Regions from separate parts of the Homo sapiens genome. Here regions 1, 2 and 4 are each linked to region 3. Evidence: promoter capture Hi-C in human tissues and cell types (Jung and others, 2019). All regions are on one chromosome and are shown on one strand. The core of a region is centred on a gene start or on the middle of the fragment in contact, and the rest is flanking DNA. Distances in the headings are between cores, read along the strand shown. Region 1 overlaps GGT7 (gamma-glutamyltransferase 7). Region 2 overlaps ACSS2 (acyl-CoA synthetase short chain family member 2). Region 3 holds the start of EIF6 (eukaryotic translation initiation factor 6). Region 4 overlaps ACSS2 (acyl-CoA synthetase short chain family member 2).

The links. Contacts are between HindIII fragments. The study calls those that stand out against the background at their distance.
Region 1: a fragment that was not itself captured here is called in contact with the fragment with the promoter of EIF6 in region 3 in 1 of the 25 tissues and cell types used here (aorta).
Region 2: a fragment that was not itself captured here is called in contact with the fragment with the promoter of EIF6 in region 3 in 1 of the 25 tissues and cell types used here (IMR-90 fibroblasts).
Region 4: a contact is called between a fragment that was not itself captured here and the fragment with the promoter of EIF6 in region 3, in 1 of the 25 tissues and cell types used here (dorsolateral prefrontal cortex).

The regions. Positions count from the first base shown.
Region 1 is chr20:34,848,277-34,854,124 of GRCh38, forward strand. It overlaps GGT7 (gamma-glutamyltransferase 7), which reads right to left. Exons shown (of 15, transcript NM_178026.3): 11 at 4,113-4,262; 12 at 3,879-3,996; 13 at 2,955-3,092; 14 at 1,685-1,784. Among named protein-coding and RNA genes, the nearest start is that of GGT7, 22 kb to the right of the region's middle. The HindIII fragment of the contact is 4,589 bases long and covers 2,134-5,848 here.
Region 2 is chr20:34,900,550-34,905,830 of GRCh38, forward strand. The region is part of intron 2 of ACSS2 (acyl-CoA synthetase short chain family member 2); the gene reads left to right. Among named protein-coding and RNA genes, the nearest start is that of ACSS2, 27 kb to the left of the region's middle. The HindIII fragment of the contact is 3,512 bases long and covers 1-3,284 here.
Region 3 is chr20:35,280,072-35,286,021 of GRCh38, forward strand. EIF6 (eukaryotic translation initiation factor 6) reads right to left here and starts at 4,701. Exons shown (of 7, transcript NM_002212.4): 1 at 4,655-4,701; 2 at 4,310-4,421; 3 at 4,105-4,190; 4 at 583-758; 5 at 1-47. The coding sequence starts at 4,416. FAM83C (family with sequence similarity 83 member C) reads right to left here. Exons shown (of 4, transcript NM_178468.6): 4 at 5,660-5,950. It overlaps FAM83C-AS1 (FAM83C antisense RNA 1), which reads left to right and starts at 5,180. Exons shown (of 2, transcript NR_109815.1): 1 at 5,180-5,244; 2 at 5,399-5,701. RefSeq lists a silencer at 4,431-4,620 and an enhancer at 4,713-5,263. The HindIII fragment of the contact is 18,620 bases long and covers 1-5,950 here.
Region 4 is chr20:34,916,267-34,921,645 of GRCh38, forward strand. ACSS2 (acyl-CoA synthetase short chain family member 2) reads left to right here. Exons shown (of 18, transcript NM_018677.4): 8 at 3,169-3,306; 9 at 4,273-4,443; 10 at 4,740-4,873; 11 at 5,064-5,196; 12 at 5,278-5,334. Among named protein-coding and RNA genes, the nearest start is that of GSS, 37 kb to the right of the region's middle. RefSeq lists an enhancer at 4,574-5,379. The HindIII fragment of the contact is 5,456 bases long and covers 73-5,379 here.

The DNA.
Region 1 (5,848 bases), core at 3,178-5,677, 430 kb before region 3:
CCTAGGCTGTTCCTCCTGTCCAGAATGTCCTTTACCTCCACATACCAAATTCCTACTCATACTTCAAAGCCAAGCTACTTGTCACCTCCTCCATAAAGCCTCCCCAGGGCCTCAGGTAGATGAACTTTCCCTTCACCAAGCCCCCACTCCTTGTACCTCCATCTTACACTAAGGCCCTGAAGGCAGGACTGGGCTGAGCCCAAATAACTTAGCACAGAGCCTCACATTCAACAGAGACCAGCAGATATTTGTTGAACAAAATTCAATTTCAAGGATGTGGCCTTGTCATCTATCAGCTGGGATCCAAGTGTCGCTGGCCAACCACAGGATGTGATTGTTGAAGATCGCGGTCTCTGCTTCTAATGTGATTCAGTCCAGGAGATATCAAGAGCTGTGCAGTAAAGAATAGAGTCTTTGGTATCAGCCAGGTGTGTGTCCTAATTGAAGTTCTGCCACTTAGTGGTTGATCTTTGACTAGTTTATAACTTCTGTGAGCCTCAGTTTCTTCCTCTATAGAATGGGGATAATAATATTGAACAGGCAAGGACTGTGTCTCAATCAATTCTGTATTCTTTTGGACTCGTGTCATATTAATACATTGTCTGTTATAATAAAAACTCCTCAAAGGTGCAGATACTTTCCTGTTTATAAAATTCAGCTGTGCCAAAATTAAGCCCTTTTCTTAGAGGAAAGTCCGTCTCCTCACCCTAAGGTCCACGATCCGGCGCCTGCCTGCCTCTCTGATCTAATTTCATCCTTGCTTACCTTGGTCTCCTTTTTAGTCCTCAAACTCACCAAACCCACTCCTGCCCTGAGTTCTTTGTACTTGCTCCCCTGACCTACAAAGCTCTGCACCAATTCTTTGTATAGTGGGCTCTCTCTTACTTTTTTTTTTTTTTTTTAGGAGATAGGATCTCACTCTGTTACCCAGGCTGTAGGGCAGTGGCGTGATCTTGGCTCACTGTAACCTCTGCCTCCCTGGTTCAAGCAATTCTCCTGCCTCAGCCTCCCGAGTAGCTAGAACCACAGGCACGTGCCATGCCTGGCTAATTTAAAAAAATTTTTTTATAGAGACGGGGGGGTGGAGGGGGGTCTCACTATGTTACTGAGGCTGCTCTTGAACTCTTGGCCTCAAGCGATCCTCTCACCTCAGCCTGGGATTATAGGTCTGAGCCATTGCACCCAGTTTCTTTCTCACTCTTTAGATCTCAGCTTAAATGCCACCAAAGAGAAGTCTTCCTTGATCATTGAGTCCGTCCTATTATATCACCCTGCTTTGACAGTTGGCAGAGCATTTATTTGTCTCATATTTCTTTGATGACTTATTTTCTTGTTTGCCTGTAAATGCAGAATCCCCAGCACCTAGGATGATGCCTGGAACACGTACGTGTTCAATACAAACTGTTGAGTAAATGAAAGTTTGAAGAATGAACAACTGTGTCTTATTTTACAAATGAGAAAACTGAGGCTCAGAGTTGAGACATGGATTTCCCAAGGCCACACAACCAGGAAATGGCAAGACTGGTTCCAATCCCCAGATCGTTCACTGCTCCAATAGAAATTTGCCAAATAAAACCAAACTTCACTGGCAGTTGGTGCTGGTTGAGGCATGGGCACCCTTGGGAGGAGTCCTTTCTCTACCTGTCCCTGTGCCCGCCCCACGAGGTCTCTGCTCTGCACTCACTGTCCACCTGCAGGAGGTTGGACTGCAGGTCCGGGTGTAGGCGGCCGCGGGCCAGGCTGTCACTCAGGTTCCGGTTCAAGGTCAGGACATTCAGCAGAACCTGTGGTAGCCAAGGTACAGAAAAATCAGGGCTGTCCCAGGGGTGATGGTCCAGGATTCCTCAGCTCTCACCCTTGGTCCAGGCTCCTTAGTCTTGAGAATTCTTACACCGGGTGTCATCTGAGCCTCCTAACAGCCCTGGAAGACAGGCAGGCCTGTGATGACTGTTTCCATTTCACAGAGAGGGAAAGTGAAGTCCAGCAAGGAAAATGACTTACTCCAGAGTTTAGAGGAAGCCAGGGAAGATACACCACTAGAACCAAGTCTCTTTAATCTAGCCCGGGGCTCCCTTCTTTTCTCTCTGGATAGGGCAAGGTTAATAGCTAGGAGTGGTCTAGGGCACAATGTGGGTGCTTTTAACTTAGTGGTTAGGAGTGTGCGTAGGCTCTGGAACCAAACTGCCTCCCTGCTCTTTCTAGCTGAAGGTACTTGACCTAAAGTCTTAACCTCTCTGGGCTTCGGTTTCCTTATCTATAAAATAGAAATAAGGATTCTCTCCAGAACTGGGAAGGTTAAAATGGTTAACACACATAACACAGTGCCCAGCACTTAGTACGAACTCTTTAAATGTTAGCTATTGTTATTATTTCCATTTTAAAGATGAAGAGACTGAGGTTCAGAGCTGTTAAGTGAATGCTCCAGCATCACACAGTTACAAATTGGTAGCACTTGGGCCGGAACCCAGGAGTGTCTGATTCCAGAACTTAAGATCGTTAACTCACCACCTGCCAAAATAGGTGCCTGGCATATATATCAGGTTCTCAAGACATTCATGGAGCCATTCTGAGGTGTTCTGGAGAAAAGCAGGCCCTTCCTTTCAAATCCCACCCTAAAGAGGGCTGGTTGTCTATTCAGATGCTGGGTAGAGGTATAATGGGACTTGAGGTTAACAGAACCCAGGCCACCCAGATGCTAACCCCACTTTTCAATCTACTGACCCTGCCATTTCCCCTGCAACCGGGAAAGACAGGGAGCATCAGGGCTCCATTTTCACTAAGAAACTCAGCGCAGCCCATGTCCACATTGCCCAGGATGCGCCTGGCACAAAACAGCCTCAGCCCATGTTTGCCGCATGAGGAATGGAAACAAGCCACAGATATGACAGGCATCTGCAGTCTAGGCCACAGCTTGGCTCCCGGCTGAAAAAGGCCAACCATGGCGTAAACCTCACCTGTGTCAGGCCGCTGAGGCCCCGCGCAGCTCCATTGGCCCCCAGAGCGAGGTAGGTTCCACAGAGCCCCTCCGCGGGTCGGACCACTGTGGGCAGCAGGAAAGAGAGTGGCCGCTTCCCTGGCTGCACTGAATTCTCCTGTTGTTAGAGGACAGAGACCACAAGGGGCAGGTGGGGTGGGACAAGACCGGGAAAGGGCCCCTCCACAACCCTTCCAACTGCTCTCCCTCTTCTACATCTTCCACAGGCCCAGTTTTCCTGGGAGACTGGTCCCTTCCCAGACAACAGTTTGCTATCTGTGAAATGGGTAGGGTGCCTGGATGGGTGGGGTGGATGGGGGAGTGATAAGTACATCCACTGAGCTATGAGGCTGCTACGGGTCACAGGAGAAAGGACCAAGCCAAGAAAGATGGCAATGGGGAAGAACAGGATAACCCCACCCTGATCATCTCTATGTGTCTTTGCCCTGCTGGGGCCCCAGATGGCGGGGTGTAAGAGTGCTGATTTTTAACTAGATAAAAATTATTAAATCCTTCCTCCTTGGGTCCCTCTTTGGTGCCCAACCATAGGGCTGAGCCCCATCAGCTCAAGCTCACATAGTCACAGACCGCTAGTGCTGGAAAATGCCCAAAACATCAAATAGGAGCCAAAACCCTCATTGTACAGGTGAAGAAATTGCCCAGAGAGGGCAAGATCTTCACAAGGTCACACAGTAAGACAGTGACAGAATGGGACAAGGGTTCTTCAGACCCACCAGGCTCCATGTCCCAGACTTAGCAGGGCTAGGGATGAGGTGAACCTCTTCTTTAGGCTTCCTTATACTAGAAGATTCTGGAGAAAGTAGGGAGAAAGGGGCAGCCATGCCATTGCACCTCCTACCTATAGGCCTCAGGGTCCCCAGGAAAGCAGGGAAGCAAATCCTACCAGGCTGGGTGCAGAGTGGTTAGCTGTCCGGTTGGGCCAGGAGAAGTCCAGCATCTGGCTGTTGAGCAGGATCCCCGAGGGGGTGATAAGGCCGCTGCCAAAGGGCTGGTTCAGGGAGCTGGGGGCCGAGGTGGGGTTGGGTGAGCCCTGGCCCATCCTCACCTCTACCCAGCCCCCACCCCCTCTTGGTTCAGAGGATCCCTTGTTCCAGGTTCTGAGTCTGAGCTGGCATACCTAACCATGGCCACAATGAAGTCATCAGGTCCCATGATCAGCACCTGGGCAGCCGTGGGAGCTCCGTCTAGTTCATAGACAGGCAGGAGTGGGGCAGGGGCTGCCTGGGAGTCATTGATATGGCCCCGGAGGTAGGCGGCCTCCACCTTGCTGAAAAGACAAGGGGTGGGAGATGAGCAAACAACAGGCTCTCAATACACCCCACCTACCTCACTTTTGTGGTGTTTGTGTAATTATTTGATGAAATCTACCTCCCTCACTGGACTACTAGGTCTATGAGTGCAGAAGCTCATTAATTGCACATAAGAAATACCCAGAAAATAGCTGTTGAATGTATTTAGGTATTATTTAGATTCTTTTCTGGAACCAACTTTTATTTAATGTTTAAATCAAGAGCCTTTTAGTTATCTGACTTCTTAATCCTTTCTATGAAAGTGCCTGGTGCATAATGGATCAGAAAATATTTGCTTTGAATTAACAAACTGGATTCATTTAAACTAATGTTTGTAGTCTAAAGTTTTATTAAGAGTTTAGTTGGGGGAGGATTTTGTATATGAGGATTTTTTTTTTCTTCCTAATGAGATAGAGTTTTTCTCTGTCACACAGGCTGGAGTGCAGTGACGCTGTCTCAGCTCACTGCAACCTCTGCCTCCCAGGTTCAAGTGATTCTCCTGCCTCAGCCTCCCGATTATCTGGGATTACAGGCACCTGCCACCACACCTAGCTAATTTTTTTTAGTAGAGACGGGGTTTCACCATGTTGGCCAGGCCGGTCTTGAACTCCTGACCTCAAATGATCCACTCACCTCGGCCTCCCAAAGTGCTGGGATTACAGGCATGAGCCACCACATCCAGTCAGGATCTTTACTTTCTTTTAGAGTTTTTTCCCAAGGCACAGAGTAAGTGCTCAATAACTATTTACTGGATGAACTGGTTGAATAGATTTCATATAGGTGTGTGTGTGTGTGTGTGTGTGTGTGTGTGTGTGTGTGTGTTTTAGAGCAAAGTTTGCATTGACCTTAGAAACAATATGTAATGCTCCAGACTTTTAAAAATTCAACTGAGGCGGGAGGCTGAAGCAGGAGAATTGCTTGAACCTGGGAGGCAGAGGTTACAGTGAGCCAAGATCATGACACTGCACTCCAGCCTGGGCGACAGAGCGAGACTCCATCTCAAAAAAAAAAAAAAAAAATTCAACTGAGGGTTTCTTACCTAATAACTATGTGTTGGATTATCCATAGCTGATTAGAGAATAAGTTACCAAAGATTACTTGAAGACATTTATTCAATTTTCAACCAAACAAAGCTTTACATGTATGATTTTGTTTAGTCCTTACCACAACCTTACAAGGTTGATACCATTATTGTCAAGCCCCCTTGTAGAAACAGATTTAGAGAGTTTAAACCACTTGCCCAAGGCTGCACAGCTAGCGAAGGGTCAAGCTGGAATTTGAATGAAGGCAGTCTCACCAGAGCCCACAAGCTACTACTATGTTATGTTGCTAATGAAGCTGTATTACCACCACCTTCAGTATTTGCTTGGAGACTGTTTGTTTGTTTGTTTTTGGAGACAAAGTCTCACTCTGTCACCCAGGCTGGAGTGCAGTGGCATGATCTCGGCTCACTGCAACCTCTGCTTCCCGGGTTCAAGTGATTCTCCTGCCTCAGCCTCCTGACTAGCTGGGACTACAGGCACGCGCCACCACGCCCGGCTAATTTTTGTATTTTTAGTAGAGG
Region 2 (5,281 bases), core at 279-2,778, 380 kb before region 3:
AATTTCATAAATAGTCCACTGATTGAGGCTATTTACTCTAGTTTCATCAGTTTTGAGTTGGTGAAAAGCCCGTCCAAATTTGGGTGATAGGATGACAGTTGATTCCAGTTTTTGAATCAGGAGCTGAGTGAGGCTGCATTAGGGTCTACAAGTTAGATATCATTTGAAACCAGAAATCTGTGGTGTTTTCAAAAGGAACTTTTTCTAAGGAACTAAGGGAAAACCAAACAGAATGATGAATTTCTGTTAAGTACACTAAAATTCCATCCTTGGTAGTTGTCAACCTCACAGTTCTCAGAGTTCCTACATTTTTATTTTTTTCCTTATGCTAATTCTGAATTTGGAAACAATACCCCCCTTTTGGAGGCCATGTCATTTAGGAGGAGAAGGCCCTGAACTAGACATTTAGACTCAAGAACTGTGCTATCCAACATGGAAGCCACTAGCTACATGTAACTATTGATATTTATAGTAATTAAAATTAAGTAAAATAAATAATCCAGTTCTTCCGCCACATTTCTAGTGTTTGATAGCTATATGTGGCTAGTGACTACCATTTTGGACAACAGTGCTTTAGAATAGTGTTGCTACTAATTTGTAAGTAACCTTGAGGTCATCACTTTCTATTTCTGTGCCATAGGTTTCTCAATGGTAAATAAGAGTGGTGAGTCTCAAAAGTACCATCCTCTTCTGGAATTCTTTCTTTTTCTCTTTTCTTTTCTTTCTTTTTTTGACAGGATCTTGCTTTGTTGTCCAGTCTAGTCTCTAACTCCTAGCTTCAAGTGATCCTCCCACCTCGGCCCCTAAAGTGTTGGGATTACAGGCATGAGCCACCATATCTGGCCCTCCTCTGGCATTCTGAGTAATCTGTGGTTCAGTTTTTGGGGTGTGCCTCCATCTACCTCCTCCTTCAGCCCTTCTTGATACTTACTGCAGCTAGGGCAGAAGCACCCAGAGGGAACATTAGGCTGCTAATTAGTCAAGGTACATTGCTCCCATTCCCTGGTGAAAGGGAAATTGACTTGTGGGTATACTTATATCTTGAGTGCTCCACAATTGTGCAGTGCTTTATGGATCACAGAACTCTTTCACATTGTTTTTTCATTTTATAGAATCAAAGAATCTCAAAGTTGGAAGGGCTGTAAAGGTCATCTCAAACTTCAATAACCATGAATTATATGGGGAGCTTATGCAATGAAAATTTCAAGGCCCCACTCCCTGGAGAATAATCTAGTAGAAGTAGGTGTCAGGGTTACCCTGGCCCAACCTGAACAATCCTGTGCTGCATGGGAACTTGGTACTGCATTATTAACACTATCTGACCACTCTTTGAGAAACACTGGTCTTGCTTGGTCCCCAGCCATATTGTGGAGGCTGCTCTTTGGTATCGCTACAAATCCCAGATTCAACATGATATCTCCAGGGTCAGGAAACTCCTGAAGGAGTGCCTTCCATCTTTGGACATCTCTAACAGAAAGGTTTTTTTTTTAATATGGAGCTCTCCCAATTGATGTAGATTTTCCATTTATAGTTATACTACATTAGTCTACTTTTCCCCATAATGATCCTTTAGATTCATGCATTCATTCAGCAAAAATTTACTGAACACCTATTATATACAAGGTTCTGTACGAGACAATGAGGGATTCAGCAGTGAACAAGACCAACTTGGCCTCTGCCTTCAGAAACTGTCTTCTGTCTAGTAGGGAAGATAGGAAATTAGCAAAAATAATAATAAGTAAACAAGTAATATTAATTCTATTAATAATATTAACAATAACAATAAGTAAACAAATAACAAAAGAAGTATAGTTTGAGAAAAATGCTGTGAAGAAAATAAGCAGTGTTATGATGAATAACAAGAAGAGCTGATCTACTTAGGGTGGTCAGGGAAAGCTTCACTAGGAAGTGACATTTAAGCTGAGATTTGAAACACAAGAAGAGTTGGGGAAAGATAGTTAAAGAATATGGCATGTTCTATCAGTCAGAAGGCCAGCATGTTTGGAGCCTAGTAGGCAGAATAGGAGAATGGCACAAGATGAAGTTGGGGAGGATACAAGGCATAGCAGGAGTGCGGATTTTCTTCTATATGCAGTGGAAGCTGTTAAAGGGTTTTAAGCAGGAGGTGATATGATCTGATTTGTGGTTTGTTTTATTGTTGTTTAATTAATTAATTAATTAATTAATTAATTTTGAGACAAGGTCTGGCTCTATTGCCCTGGCTGGAGTGCAGTGGCAACATCTCAGCTCACTGTAATCTCCACCTCCTGGGCTCAAGTGATCCTCCCACCTCAGCCTCCTGAGTAGCTGAAACTATAGGCATGTGCCACCACACCTGGCTATTTTTTTTTTTTTTTTTTTTTAGTAGAGAGAGCATTTCGCTATGTTGCCCAGTCTGGTCTCGAACTCTTGGGCTCAAGCAATCCTCCCACCTTGGCTTCCCAAAATGCTGGGATTACAGGCATGAGCCACCATGCCTGGCCAATTTATGTTTTTAATAGATCATTCTGTGGCCGGGTGCAGTGGCTCATGCTTGTAATCCCAGCACTTTGGGAGCCAAGGCAGGCAAATCACTTGAGGTCAGGAGTTCGAGACCAGACTGGCTAACATGGTAAAACTTCATCTCTACTAAAAATACAAAAATTAGCCAGGCATGGTGGCATGCACCTGTGGTCCCAGCTACTTGGGAGGCTGAGGCAGGAGAATCATTTGAACCCGGCAGGCAGAGGTTGCAGTAAGTCAAGATCACACCACTGCATTCCAGCCTGGGTGACAGACTGAGACTCTCTCAAAAAAAAAAAAAAAAAAGATCACAGATCATGCTGGGTGATGTGTGGACTGGAAGGGAACAAGAGTGAAGTGGGAAACCAGTTAGGTGGGCATTGTGGTCATCCAGGCAAGAGATGAAGGTAGCTTGACCGGGGTGGAGACAATGAAGATACAGATTTTTGAGACTTGCTATCACATCTCTCAATATCTTCTCTTCCACAAAATAAACAGTTCAGTGTTCCTCTCATCTCCTCTCATAACAGGTTTGGTGTCTCTTCTCACCTGGGTGTTTCTCCTCCTGTTTCTCCTCCATCTGATTCCTCTGTAAAGAACTCAGTCTTTCCCTCAGCTGTTTCTTCCTATCCTGTGCCTTGCTTGTAGTTCTAGGGAATTAAAATCTTCAATTCAATGACTATCGTTCTCATATAAAGAGGGGAGCTGGGTGCAGTGGTGCATGCCTGTAGTCCCAACTACTCTGGAGGCTGAGGTGGGAGAATCATTTGAGCCCGAGAGTTTAAGACCAGCCTGGGCAACATAGTGAGACATTGTCTCAAAAAAAAAAAAAAAAAAAAAAGTTGGGGGGTAGCACCAGTCTTCCCTGTCATTAGTCAATTACCAGTCTTTCAATTATTCAACCATGACCCTCGAATACCTATTGTGCCAATTGTGCTTGGAGGAGACAGAGAAGAAGACATGATCTCTGCCCTCCAAGAGCTCAGGGTATAATGGGAAAGATAAGGCCCAAATAAATATAATAAAAGCTAGAAAAACAGATCACAAAGAAAGTGAGATAAAGGGCTTTGGGAGGAAGAAAGAACTTTTAGCTTTTGGGTAGGTGAGAAAAAGAGAAACTAACAAAAATTTCATGGAAAATGTTAATTCAGAGAACCTGGGGCTGGAGAGGAGCGCAGGGAGTATTTTTTTTTTTTTAATGTGGTGATCAAAGATAACCTTACTGAGAAGCCAACATTTGAGCAACGACTCAAAGATAGGGAATAAGTCATGTGGCTATCTAGGGAAAGAACATTCCAAGTAGAGGGCAAAGGCTCTGAGGTTAAATGTTCTTGGTGCTTTTGCCAAACACTGGGGAGGCCGTTTGGCTGGAGCAGAGGGAAAGGGAGAGGAAGAGAGAATAGTTGTATGTGAGGACAGAGAGGAAATGAGGGACTAGATCATGTAGGCCATTGTGAGGACTTTGACTTTTACTCAAAATGAAATGGGAAGTGATCTGAGCATTCTGAGCAGAAGGGTGACATAATCTGAACTACCTAATGGTAGTTTTGGACTAGGATGGTAGAAATAGATGTGAAGAGAGGTAGTCTAATTCTAAATGGATTTTGAATCAATAATGGGTTAAAGTAAATTTCGAGAGTGTGAGAATGAAGTAGTTGGAGAAGACTCCTTGGAGGAGGTTCCCTAGGGGAAGAAGATGAGAAGGACTAGTGACTGTGTACCATGGGTTGTCACACCAACCATATGGCCTCCAGGTGAAGGAAAAGTAGTTTGGTTTATACCAAGGGTTCCCCATGTTATCCCACCAGCTAAATTTCTCATTAATAGTTTTGTTTGATTCACAGTGTTTAAACCTTTTTTTTTTTTTTTTTTTTTTGGTAGGCAGGGGCGAGACAGGGTCTCTGTTGCTAGGCTAGAGTATAGTAGCATCAACGTGGCTCACTGCAGCCTTGACCTCCCGGGCTTATGTGATCCTCCTATTTTAGCCTCTCGAGTAGCTGGGACCATAGGCATTAGCTACCATGCTTGGCTAATTATAAAATTTTTTGTAGAGACAAGTTCTCACCATGTTGCCCAGGCCAGTCTTGAACTCCTGTCCTCAAACAGTCCTCCTGCTTTGCCCTCCCAGAGTGCTGGTATTATGGCATGAACCACTGCAACTGGCCTTAAAGCTTTAAAAAAATTAGTGGTCAACACATATAAATTCAGAAGTTTTTTTTTTTTTTTTGAGACGGAGTCTCGCTCGGTCGCCCAGGCTGGAGTGCAGAGTGCAGTGCAGTAGTGTGATCTTGGCTCACTGCAAGCTCCACCTCCTGGGTTCACGCCATCCTCCTGCCTCAGCCTCCCGAGTAGCTGGGACTACAGGCGCCCGCCACCACCCCCGGCTAATTTTTTGTATTTTTAGTAGAGATGGGGTTTCACCGTCCTCTCGATCTCCTGACCTCATGATCCGCCCGCCTCAGCCTCCCAGAGTGCTGGGATTACAGGCGTGAGCCACCGTGCCTGGCCAATTCAAAAGTTTTGACAAAAATAGATTCCAGGCTGCTATTGAAAAATCGAAAAAATTGACAACATTGAGCCCTGATTCCTAGCAAGCAAAAGCTGACAGGAACCAAGTTTAGGTACTAGATGCCTCCTTTTGCCAGAGCATGCATTTGCCAGTTTTCCTGTCCTTCCCCTTCCCTATTGTTCCCCTGAAACTGAGGCTAAGGTTTATTATACATGTGCTGCTGTTTTCTTATAGGGAAGTGGAAAGGGAACTATTTCTTATCTTTATCAT
Region 3 (5,950 bases), core at 3,451-5,950:
CTGAAGACTTCCACCTTGAGCACATCTGCCAGAATTTCTTCTGTCTCCTGTCAATCAAAGATATTGTGTTCAGGGCTCAGAACTTACAGCCCCAGAACCAAGGTTCTCCATGCCCAGAAGCATCCAGGCCTTGGCTCCCTGAGCCCCTCATTTCTCCTCTGTACCTCATATGAAAGCCTCACCCAGAGAAAGGAGGAAGTACAGCTTAGAGCAGAGTCAAGGGCAGCTGTGAAGCCCCTAATATTCATGCATGCCCTGAACAGCTGGAGGCTGGTCTCAATATCACTTCTTTCCCCTCTCACCCACAGTCAAAAGTTCAACAGTCAATCACCTATCCTGGCCCAGGATGCAGGACTGGATGGTTCAATCTCCCCAATCATGAAGGATTCATACCCTCCCCAGCTTCTTTCTGACACTTGATAAGGCCTCTGTTATCACTATTCCAATGAGTACCTGAAACTCAAGAGCCCATATAGAAAAACCACAGGAGAGACCCCTAATTGCTGCCTGTTGGGAAAGAACAGTGGCTAACCACTGACTAGGATGGCCCTGTGACTCTTGGGTCAAGTTGGGCTGCCTCACCCTGTCCAAGTCTGGGTGGACCAAGGCCACGTAGTCATTGCAGGTGGTGACATTGCCCAAGGCTGAGAGCCGCTCCTCCACCCGCCTAATCTGCACTGTGTCTGGGAGGCTGTTGCGAATGTGTTGCAGCTCCTGGTCGGTGGTATTGTTGGGTACCAGGAGACCGTGCCTGTTCCCTGGAGAAACCCAAATTAGAGGGTGAATACACAAGATGCCTGCTGAGCCCTAGGGGCTGAGGATACCACTCAGCCCAGCCCAATCAGCTTTCCCAGGAAAGCTTTAGGCCCAGAGCCCAGCCCTCCAACCCACTGATCTGGAAAACACCCAGGGCAGGCCAGAGACCACCCAGGAATCCCAATAAATCCTGCCTACTTCACCATCACCAACTGGGAGGGAAGCTGAGCTCTTGGCATTAGCTGTATATTTTGCTACTTAAAAACTGAGCTGCCGGGCGTGTTGGCTCACGCCTGTAATCCCAGCACTTTGGGAGGCTGAGGTGGGCAGATCACAAGGTCAGGAGATCGAGATCGAGATCATCCTGGCTAACACGGTGAAACCCCGTCTCTACTAAAAATACAAAAAATTAGCCAGGCGTGGTGGCGGGCGCCTGTAGTCCCAGCTACTCGGGAGGCTGAGGCAGGAGAATGGCGTGAACCCGGGAGGCGGAGCTTGCAGTGAGCCGAGATCGCGCCACTGCACTCCAACCTGGGTGACAGAGCGAAACTCCGTCTCCAAAAAAAAAAAACAAAAAAACAAAAAAAACTGAGCTAACACTACACACATAGCAGAATGGCTAGATTATTATTTTTTAAGGCAGAGTCTCACTCTGTCACCCAGGCTGGAGCGCAGTGGTGCGATCTCAGCTCACTGCAACTTCTGCATCCTGGGTTCAGGTGATTCTCCTGCTTCGGCCTCCTGAGTAGCTGGAATTACAAGTGCGTGCCACCACACCTGGCTAACTTTTTGTGATTTTGTAGAGATGGGGTCTCACTATGTTGGCCAGGCTGGTCTCGAACTCCTAACCTCAGGTGATCCGCCCACCTCGACCTCCCAAAGTGCTACGATTACAGGTGTGAGCCACTGCCCCCAGCCAGAATGACTAAAATTTTTACAAGTCATCAATTCCAAGTGTTGGCAAAGATATATGGAGCAACTGAACTCTCATACTGAGACAGGAGTGTAAGTTGGTCAATCACTTTAGATAATTATCTGGCATCATCTGCAACTACTACTAAATAGTCACATAACCTGTGACTCTGCCATGCCACTCTTAGGTATCATATACCCAGTAGAAATATGTACATGTGTTCACTAAAAAAACATAGCAGCACTATTACTTTTTTTTTTTTTTTTGAGACGGAGTCTTGTTCTGTTGCCCAGGCTGGAGTGCAGTGGCACAATCTCGGCTCACTGCAAGTTCTACCTCCCCGGTTCACACCATTCTCCTGCCTCAACCTCCCAAGTAGCTGGGACTACAGGCACCCGCCACCACACCTGGCTAATTTTTTTGTATTTTTAGTAGACACGGGGTTTCACCGTGTTAACCAGGATGGTCTCGATCTCCCGACCTCGTGATCCGCCCGCCTCGGCCTCCCAGAGTGCTGGGATTACAGGCGTGAGCCACCATGCCCGGCCAGCAGCACTATTCCTAACAGACCAAAGTGAAAACTGCCCAAATGCACTGTCGATGGAATGGATGAATACGTTGTGATATACTTACACAAAACACACCATACAGCAACAAGAATGAACAATCTACAAATACACGCCAATCAATTTCTGAATTCCAGGTCACTCCCATCATAAAATACACAAGGACTAAGCTAAAATCTCCCTTGTTGTCAGAACTTGCTTCAAGTCCTAAGGGCATGGTTAGAGATCAGAGTATTTTAACTGAATAGGAAAATACTTTGAGGTCACTAGGCTTAAGTTTTTGTTGTTGTTGTTTTTTGTTTTTTGTTTTTTTTTGAGACACAGTTTCACTCTTATTGCCCAGGCTGAAATGCAATGGCACAATCTCAGCTCACCGCAGGGTGAGCTCCACCTCCAGGGTTCAAGCAATTCTCCCGCCTCAGCCTCCCAAGTAGCTGGGATTATAGGTATGCGCCACCACACCCGGCTAATTTCTGTATTTTTAGTAGAGACGGGGTTTCTCCATGTTGGTCAGGTTAGTCTCGAACTGCTGACCTCAGGTGATCCACCTGCCTCGACCTCCCAAGCAGGCTTAAGATTTTTAAAAATTAAAGTAAAAGTAAAAAAATAAAATAAACAGACTTCTAAAAGTGACCTCAATGAGCAGAACTAAGAAACAATGGGCAGCAGTAATGGAAGACAGATCCAGCTTAATGAAAGGACCGGCCGGGCGCAGTGGCTCACGCCTGTAATCCCAGCACTTTGGGAGGCCGAGGTGGGAGGATCACCTGAGGTCAGGAGTTCAAGACCAGCCTGGCCAACATGGTGAAACTCCATCTCTACTAAAAATACAAAAAAATTAGCCGGGTGTGGCGGGATGCGCCTGTAATCCCAGCTACTTGGGAGGCTGAGGCAGGAGAATCACTTGAAGAGAGTGTTGCAGTGAGCCAAGATCGTGCCATTGCACTCCAGCCTGGGCAACAAGAGCGAAAACTCCATCTCAAAAAAAAATAATAATAATAATAAAAAGGAAAGGACCAACGACCAGAATTAACAGTGCTGACAGGTAGGAAGGTAGGGTAGAGATGTGGTAAAGGGAATTTAAGATTCCAACGTAACTGAGCAGGAAGACCGCATATCTTAGCTAATCTTTACAGAGACAGAAATGGATGCTTAGAAAGAGAAAGCACCTTGCCCAGTCAGTGGCAGGGAGAGATGAGATACAAATCCTCGGCTGGGTATAGTGGCTCTCGCCTATAATCCCAACACTTTAAGAGACCAAGGTAAGAAGATCACTTGAGCCCAGGAGATCAAGGCCAGGCTGGGCAACACAGGGAGGCCGCGTCTCTACCAAAAATGTAAAAATTAGCCAGGTGTGGTGGCACGTGCCTGTGGCCCTAGCTACCTGGTAGGCTGAGGTGGGAGGATCACTTGAGCCTAAGAAGTTGAGGATGCAGACAGCTGTGATCTTGCCACTGCACTCCAGCCTGGGCGAAAGAGCAAAAATCTGGCCTCAAAAAAAAAAAAAAAAGAGAAAAATCCTTCTCCAACACTAGGAACTAGGTGTGGAACTTACTGAGTCACTTAGGTCAAGTCTCAACTTCCTCATCAGTCAAGTTAGGCCAGTAACTCCTACCTTCTAGTGTCTTTGTGACGAAGGAATGAGAACAGGAGTGAAAGCACTTTACATTATTTGTTATTACTATTATCCAGCAGCCTTTGCTAGAGGGTTGCCCCGATCTCCTGACGCTTGGCCTGAGAGATTCTATAGTGCCCAGAGATAACAGATGATACCCTGGGAATCCCTAGGTCACTCCGGGTTCCCTCCGGGGGTGTAATTAATGGTGCTTGGAGACCACTCCCTCCCTCGGCGTCCTCCACCTGCCTTACCCACACACATGCGCCCGATGATGCGGCAGCCGGCGATAGACGCGTGCACCACGGGGATGGTATCGGAGAGCTCGCCCTCGAACACACTGTAGGGACATGGACTCGGTGGTGGCGGGGCAGAGGGGCCGGCACCCTCCCACTGCCGGAGCTCTTGACTCCTGCGCACGCCTCCCCGCCACCGTAAGCCCCGGGGCTCCCGCCGCACCTGTAGAAGTTCTCTGAGCCTCCGATCGCTACCAGACAGTAGGTGTTGGTGAGCTTGGCAAAGCAGCCGATCTCACAGTTGTTCTCGAACGAAGCTCGGACCGCCATGAGGCCTAGGGGCGGCGGAGGCGGGAGTTCAAGGCCGGCGGATCCTTTCCCAAGTATCCCGGCCTCCGTCCCTCAGGCCCCGCCGCGACCCCGCCCCTCTCGGCCTCCCGGCCCCTCCGTCCTCGGGTCCCGCCCACTGGGCCCCCACCAGAACCTCCGGCCCTGAATCCTCTGGCCCCCACCCCTCCCGACCCAGGACCGGAGCTGACCCTCCCAGGTTCCCCTCACACCAGCTTACCAAGTAACCAGTAACAAGCTCCGCACGCGGCGACTGTACCTTGGACTCCCTAAAAAGGTTTCCGTTTCCACTTCCGTCCAGGGAGACTTCCGGGAGAGCCCGGCGCTCCCCGCCACGCATCCAGCCCCTCTACCTCCGGCCTCCGGCGGACTCTATGGTCGCGAGCGGTCTGGGCGCGACCCCGCCTGGCCCCACGCCTAGCCTGCTCGCGTTCATTCATTCATTATTCATTCAGGAGCTTTTTAGGAGCTGTCATCGACCTAGACCTCCGGCTGGTCGGTTGTGAGGCATGAGGGAGAGGAGGGGCCAGGAGTGTCTCGCGGAAGGGTTGATGATGGAGGTATTGATGGAAATGAAGCCGGAGGAAGGGCAGGTTTGGGGAAAGGGATGAGTCCAGCTGTGCCTTGAGGGACAGAAGTCCATGTCTGGAGCCCAGCAGGGGAGTGGAGTGCTGACGAATGAGATGAGGGGCTGAAGACGGGTGGACTAGAAGAGGCTACCCATGGAGAGAGTTCCAGGAGGCAGAAGTGCGGCCAGACCGAGGCTGGAGAAAGAGCGCAGCCAGAGACGGAAAGGCAGCCAGGCTGCAGGTGCTGGAGAGAGGGGAGGACTGAGGAAGCAGGGGCTCAGGAAAAGGCTGGAAAGGGGTCCAGGGTGGGCAAGGATGTGGGTGCTGGTTGGCTTCCACGATGTGCCTCTCGCACGGCCTCTATCACTCACTCAGCAGCCAACTTCTGTCCCCAGGATAGTGATGGGGGCCAAGGGCCCTGCTGCACACTTGGACAGGATGAACTTGGCCCACATTTTGTAGAATCTGCAAAAGCCCCGGGTTCTCTCAAAATGTCACAGTGGTAACTTGGAGCCCCTGGACTCCCCCAATTCCTCCTTCGGCATTCACCCTCCTCCAGGGGTTTCCCCATAATTGGCCTGAATGGTGCCCTTCCCATTCCCCCAACGTGTCCCTCCCATAACTCCTCAAAGTTCAGGATACACCAGGCGCTGTGATTCACAATAAAGTCTGCCTTTATTGATGTGTATCATGTTTACTATCCCGGGTAAGTGGTGAGTTCAGGAAAATGGCCCACAACCTGTCACAGCCTGTACTTCAAGAGACACTCAGCAAGATGATGACGACGACAATGATGATGATGATGATGATGACTCAGCAAGATGATGACGACGACAATGATGATGATGATAATGATGATGTGTGTGTGTGTGTGTTTCCGGGTATCCACATACTCTGCTCTTCCTCACTCATTCACCTCAGACCCACTCAGTCCTCTTTAGGGCATC
Region 4 (5,379 bases), core at 1,551-4,050, 370 kb before region 3:
TTCAAATCCTGGCTCTGCCATCTGCTGCTGTGTAAACTTGAACAAATTACTTAAGCTCTCTCGCTTGTTTCTCCATCTGTAAGATAAGGATAATAATTATACCTATGTTATCGGGTTTTGTCAATATATGTAAGGTGTTTGGCACATAGTAACTACTCAATAAATGTTAGCTGTTTTTTCCTTCCCCTTAATGCAACAGACAGATTGGCATTTCTAAAACAGAGACCAGAAAAGAAATAACAAACTCTTGTAATTCTTAATACCAGAGACCTTCAGGCCAAAGGCTACTGGATTTTTGTTTCTTGGAGGTGAAAATAACCAGTTTCCAAAATACCAAAGAGCATAAAAATAGGCTTAAAAAGTCCAGGTTGTTGGTCTGAGAATTGCAGTCAAAGCTGCAAAAATCTTTCTGACAATGGGCCCCATATTTAAAAATTAAAAAATAGTTTTCAAAAGAGCTGCAAAAATCCTGGCAGGGCTCCAAACCCCTTTATCCTTAAACAATCTTCCAGGGAGATCCTGGCAGGGTTTGCAGGGACCCTCCTCAACCATATCGTCTATGAGCTCCCTCATATTCCTCTCCCGTACATGGCAGCTGCCCTCCTTGAGACTATCCTGGTCCAAGGACAAAGGCCAACTCCTCAATTCTTATTTTAGAAAATTCAGACCTTTTCCTGGTGCAGAGCCTGGGGCCTCATAGGCACACACCTAATTCACAATCAAAGGTTGCTTTGCTAATTGAGTTCACTCTGCTTCCTGGTGCTAGTTATCAGTTCCACACCTGGAGTACTCTGACCCCTCCACCTCTATATACACACCCACCCACAAAAGAAATAATAAGATTATAAGAGTGCCCTCATTGCAGAGCCACAGTTGTAACTATGCCTTGTCCTTACATGTACTTAGTGCCTGTTCTGTGGCAGTTCACAGTGCTGTAGACCAGCACCATTTGTCCAAAGCAGTATTGATACTTCTGGTTGAATACCTTAGTGCCCCCATCTCAAGTGATCATTTGGCAGGAAAAAAAGTACCCATGTGACAATGTATGTGTAGATGCATATGGATAGACCAAATCAGGTGTGTTCTTATGTTTTCTAACCGTAGGCAGCTTTCTCTCTCTTCTTCCTTTTTCTAGGCTTGTCGTTTTTATGATGTTGATAATCCAGAAATTTCAAATTCTCTACCATAAGGGGCAGGTGGTACAGAAAGAACGGAGTGGTTAGAGAGTCATTTTCTAATTTATCAAGCTATATATCTAACACTCCAGAAGTTTTTTTAACCAAATATGCACACAACAAATTAGCATATATCCTTATAATGGGAGAATGGCATTTATCTTACACCATCATGTCTACCTGCCAGCCAGGGCCATTGAACATACAAGAATCTAATTAATATGAAAGGACTTTGTGACAGCTAAAGCAAACCCCAAACAGTTCCTATCATCACACTCTTAAGTTTTTGTGGGTTTTTTTTGTTGTTTTTGTTTTTGTTTTTGTTTTTTGAGATGGAGTCTCACTCTGTCGCTCAGGCTGAAGTACAGTGGTACGATCTCGGCTTACTGCAACTTCTGCTTCCTGGTTTCAAGTGATTCTCCTGCCTCACCCTCCCAAGTAGCTGGGATTACAGGTGTCTACCACCACGCCTGGCTACTTTTTGTATTTTTAGTAGAGATGAGGTTTCACCATGTTGGCCAGGCTGGTCTTGAACTCACTCCTCACCTCAGGTGATCTGCCCACTTTGGCCTCCCAAAGTGCTGGGATTACAGGCGTGAGCCACCGCGCCCAGCCCCACACTCTTAAGTTTAACTCCCAGTAGTCACTGAACTAACCTCTGTCTCTCCTGACATTCATCAGTCTTCCTCATCTCACCCCAACCTCTACCCTTGGGGCAATCCAAGGCTTGATGTTTACTAGATAATACTTTTTTCTTTTGGTGTTTACCACATCCTGTGAGTCTGTTAAGGCAAGAATGACTGTCCTCATTTGTAAAAGGAGAGACTTAAGGTAAAGTGATTTGCCCAAGGTCATATAGCTAGGAAGTGGCAGAACTGGTATTGAAGTACACTGAAGATTTTGGACAAATTCAAGGGATCTAACTTCATTCAGCAGATGGTAGACTCAAAATTGGTGTTCAAAGAGGTGATATAGACAGAAAAGTAAAACAGTTTCAAAGGAGAATTTAGAGAAGTTTCAGGATGACAGATCCAGAAGTAATTATCAAAGGCATAGGGGGACATCCTTCTACTGGGAGAAGTCCACCTTGGTCCTTCTTCACCAACTTGAAGCAAAGCTTCCTGCTGAATGGAACCTGTCCCCTCAAGCAAAAGTCTCTATGGGAAACCCTATTGGTACCAGTGGTGTAAAGGCAGGAGCAGAGCTAGGGTAGGAAACACGCAGATGTGGATTGGGTCTGGACATGTAGGCAAAAGTGCTTGGACCAAGATCTGTTGACTTATTTTACTACTAACAGGGTCAGGTGCCCACCTCACCTGTAAGCTCTGACTAATTTTGCATTTCTGAATTGTGTGGTGTCCGCATCCCTGCTAATGAGCCTAGTCCCATAAGTACATATGTATGTATGTAGACCTGTGTGTGCATAGTCATTCATCCAACAAAAATTGACTGAGTGCCAGGCACTTTGCTAGGTGTTGGGAGATATGGCAGGGGTCGGGAGGAAAGACATTTCACCTCCTTCATAGATGTCGCTATCTAGATGGGGAGACAGTAATCAAGTAGACAACTAAACAAAATAACAGGAAATATGTACTGTGTGGGAAAGAAACATGGTGTTGTGATCAATAATAATAGCAGGGTTGGGGGTAGCAATCTATCAGATACTGTTCAGGTAAAGGCTTTCCAAGAAGGTGACATTTCAGCTCAGAATTGAAGGATGGGAAGGGACCAGCCAAGGGTTCCTCCTCAGCCTGAGGCCAGGTGAGAGGAGTTCTGGGGTAGAGATGGGGGTAGGATGGCAGGGTGGTTGGAGTACTCAGTAAGCTTGGGTTCTGCTCCTGTTCTTTCTGTTCCATTCCATCCTTGAAGGGCCTTCTCTCCCTTCCTGTACTCCTACCTGCCTGTCCCACCTCATTCCCTCCAGGGGCAAGGTACGGGTGTATCTTGTCCCCATCTTGAGCTGTTCACAGTTCTTCCCTGCCCATCCCTGCAGATCTCATGGAACCAAGGGATTGACTTGTGGTGGCATGAGCTCATGCAAGAGGCAGGGGATGAGTGTGAGCCCGAGTGGTGTGATGCCGAGGACCCACTCTTCATCCTGTACACCAGTGGCTCCACAGGCAAACCCAAGGCAAGTGTGTGTGTGTGTGTGTGTGTGTGTGTGTGTGTGTGTGTGTGTATTATGTAGGGGTAAGAAGTAAGTTTCTGAGGAAACAAGTAATGAAATTATTTTTTTCCTACAACCCTGAGTTTTGGAAATGTAGCATTGTCTTTTCTAAATCAAATTAAGACATAAATCCTCAATCTATAGGTGGTGAGGCCCAGGGTGAGACAGTTCAGGTGGAGGGTTTTCATACAGCTGACATGGATGTTCTTTCCCTATGCACCCATGGTTTGGTTGAAGGAGAGCTATTCTGTTAACTCAAGGCCAAGGGTGGGCACAGAGATCCCTCTCAGGCTTCTAAGACCATAACTCTTAGAGTTCAATTCCTTCCACCTGGCACACTATTAACATGTAGTCCTCTGCCAGCACACACCATGGGAGCCGGAAACACTTAAGAAAACTGTTTCTTCCATTGACTTGAAAGCTATGTCACTCTACCTTCTGCCCACTCCACCCCTAAATTATCTCCATATGCTTTGGAATATCCCTCAATAAGTCTTTAGAAACACAATTTTGGCCTCTCTTTCATAGAGATGGGGGTAGGGATGGAATAAGCAAAGGGAATTATCTTTTTTTTCCCACTCACTCTGATGGTGTGTAATTGAGTGTGTGGGCACAAATACACAACAGAGGGACTATTATGAGTGTGCTATGAGTGCTCATGTGTGAGTGATGTGGGTGGCTCTGAAATACCATCTGAGGGTGCTGGTATGAATGATGGCCTGATAGACATATGTGTCATCAGGAGTGTGATAAAGGAGATGAGATGGGAGCATGGAGAAAAGGAGATGGAAGGGAGATGGATGCTGTGAAAAGGGTGCTGGCAGGGCTGGAATCCCTGAGGAGGATCTTCCTCCAGCTCTGCCCAGCCTCCATTTGGTGGTCAGTAGGGGTGGGCATAAGACCCTAACCTGTTCCCCATTCTTCCCACAGGGTGTGGTTCACACAGTTGGGGGCTACATGCTCTATGTAGCCACAACCTTCAAGTATGTGTTTGACTTCCATGCAGAGGATGTGTTCTGGTGCACGGCAGACATTGGTTGGATCACTGGTCATTCCTACGTCACCTATGGGCCACTGGCCAATGGTGCCACCAGTGTTTTGGTGAGAAGGGAGCCACCTGGCCTAGCTGGGGGATGGACAAGATTATCCTGGGTGACTACCTCCCAAGGCTGCTTGGTCTAGAGGGAGGGGGACTTATACAATCATCTGTTTTCTGGAGAAAGAGAAGTCCTGAGGGGGTTGCGTATCCTGACTAGGATGGTATCTTGGCTTGTCTGGCCAGGGAGTGAAGATATGGTTGGTCAGAAAGGGCAAAATACTGAACCTGAGGGAATGGTAGGGGGATGAATAGAAGGACTATTAGGAAAGACTGGGAATGACCAGCCTTCATGGGTCAGTTTGAGGGGATTCCCACATATCCGGACGTGAACCGCCTGTGGAGCATTGTGGACAAATACAAGGTGACCAAGTTCTACACAGCACCCACAGCCATCCGTCTGCTCATGAAGTTTGGAGATGAGCCTGTCACCAAGTGAGACCTCTTCCCAGTTGCTGCCCTGTGGGTATCCCTCAGAGCTGGGTGCTGGCCTTTGTACAGTCTCTTCTTTTCCATTGTCCCAACTCTCTGACCTGGAATAGAGGATGGGGCAAGAGAAAAGCCTGGGTATGTGTGTCTTCCAGTAGTACTCAGAGCCTTCCTCTCTCCCATTCCCCTGCCCCAGGCATAGCCGGGCATCCTTGCAGGTGTTAGGCACAGTGGGTGAACCCATCAACCCTGAGGCCTGGCTATGGTACCACCGGGTGGTAGGTGCCCAGCGCTGCCCCATCGTGGACACCTTCTGGCAAACAGAGACAGTGAGTGAAGGGTACAGAAGGCTGGGGCCCAGGGACAATGTGGGAAGATTGACTCAAATTTCTCATCTCTGACTTCCCCAGGGTGGCCACATGTTGACTCCCCTTCCTGGTGCCACACCCATGAAACCCGGTTCTGCTGTGAGTGATGCTTCCCTGGCTGGTCTTGGGCTAGGCAGGGATGGT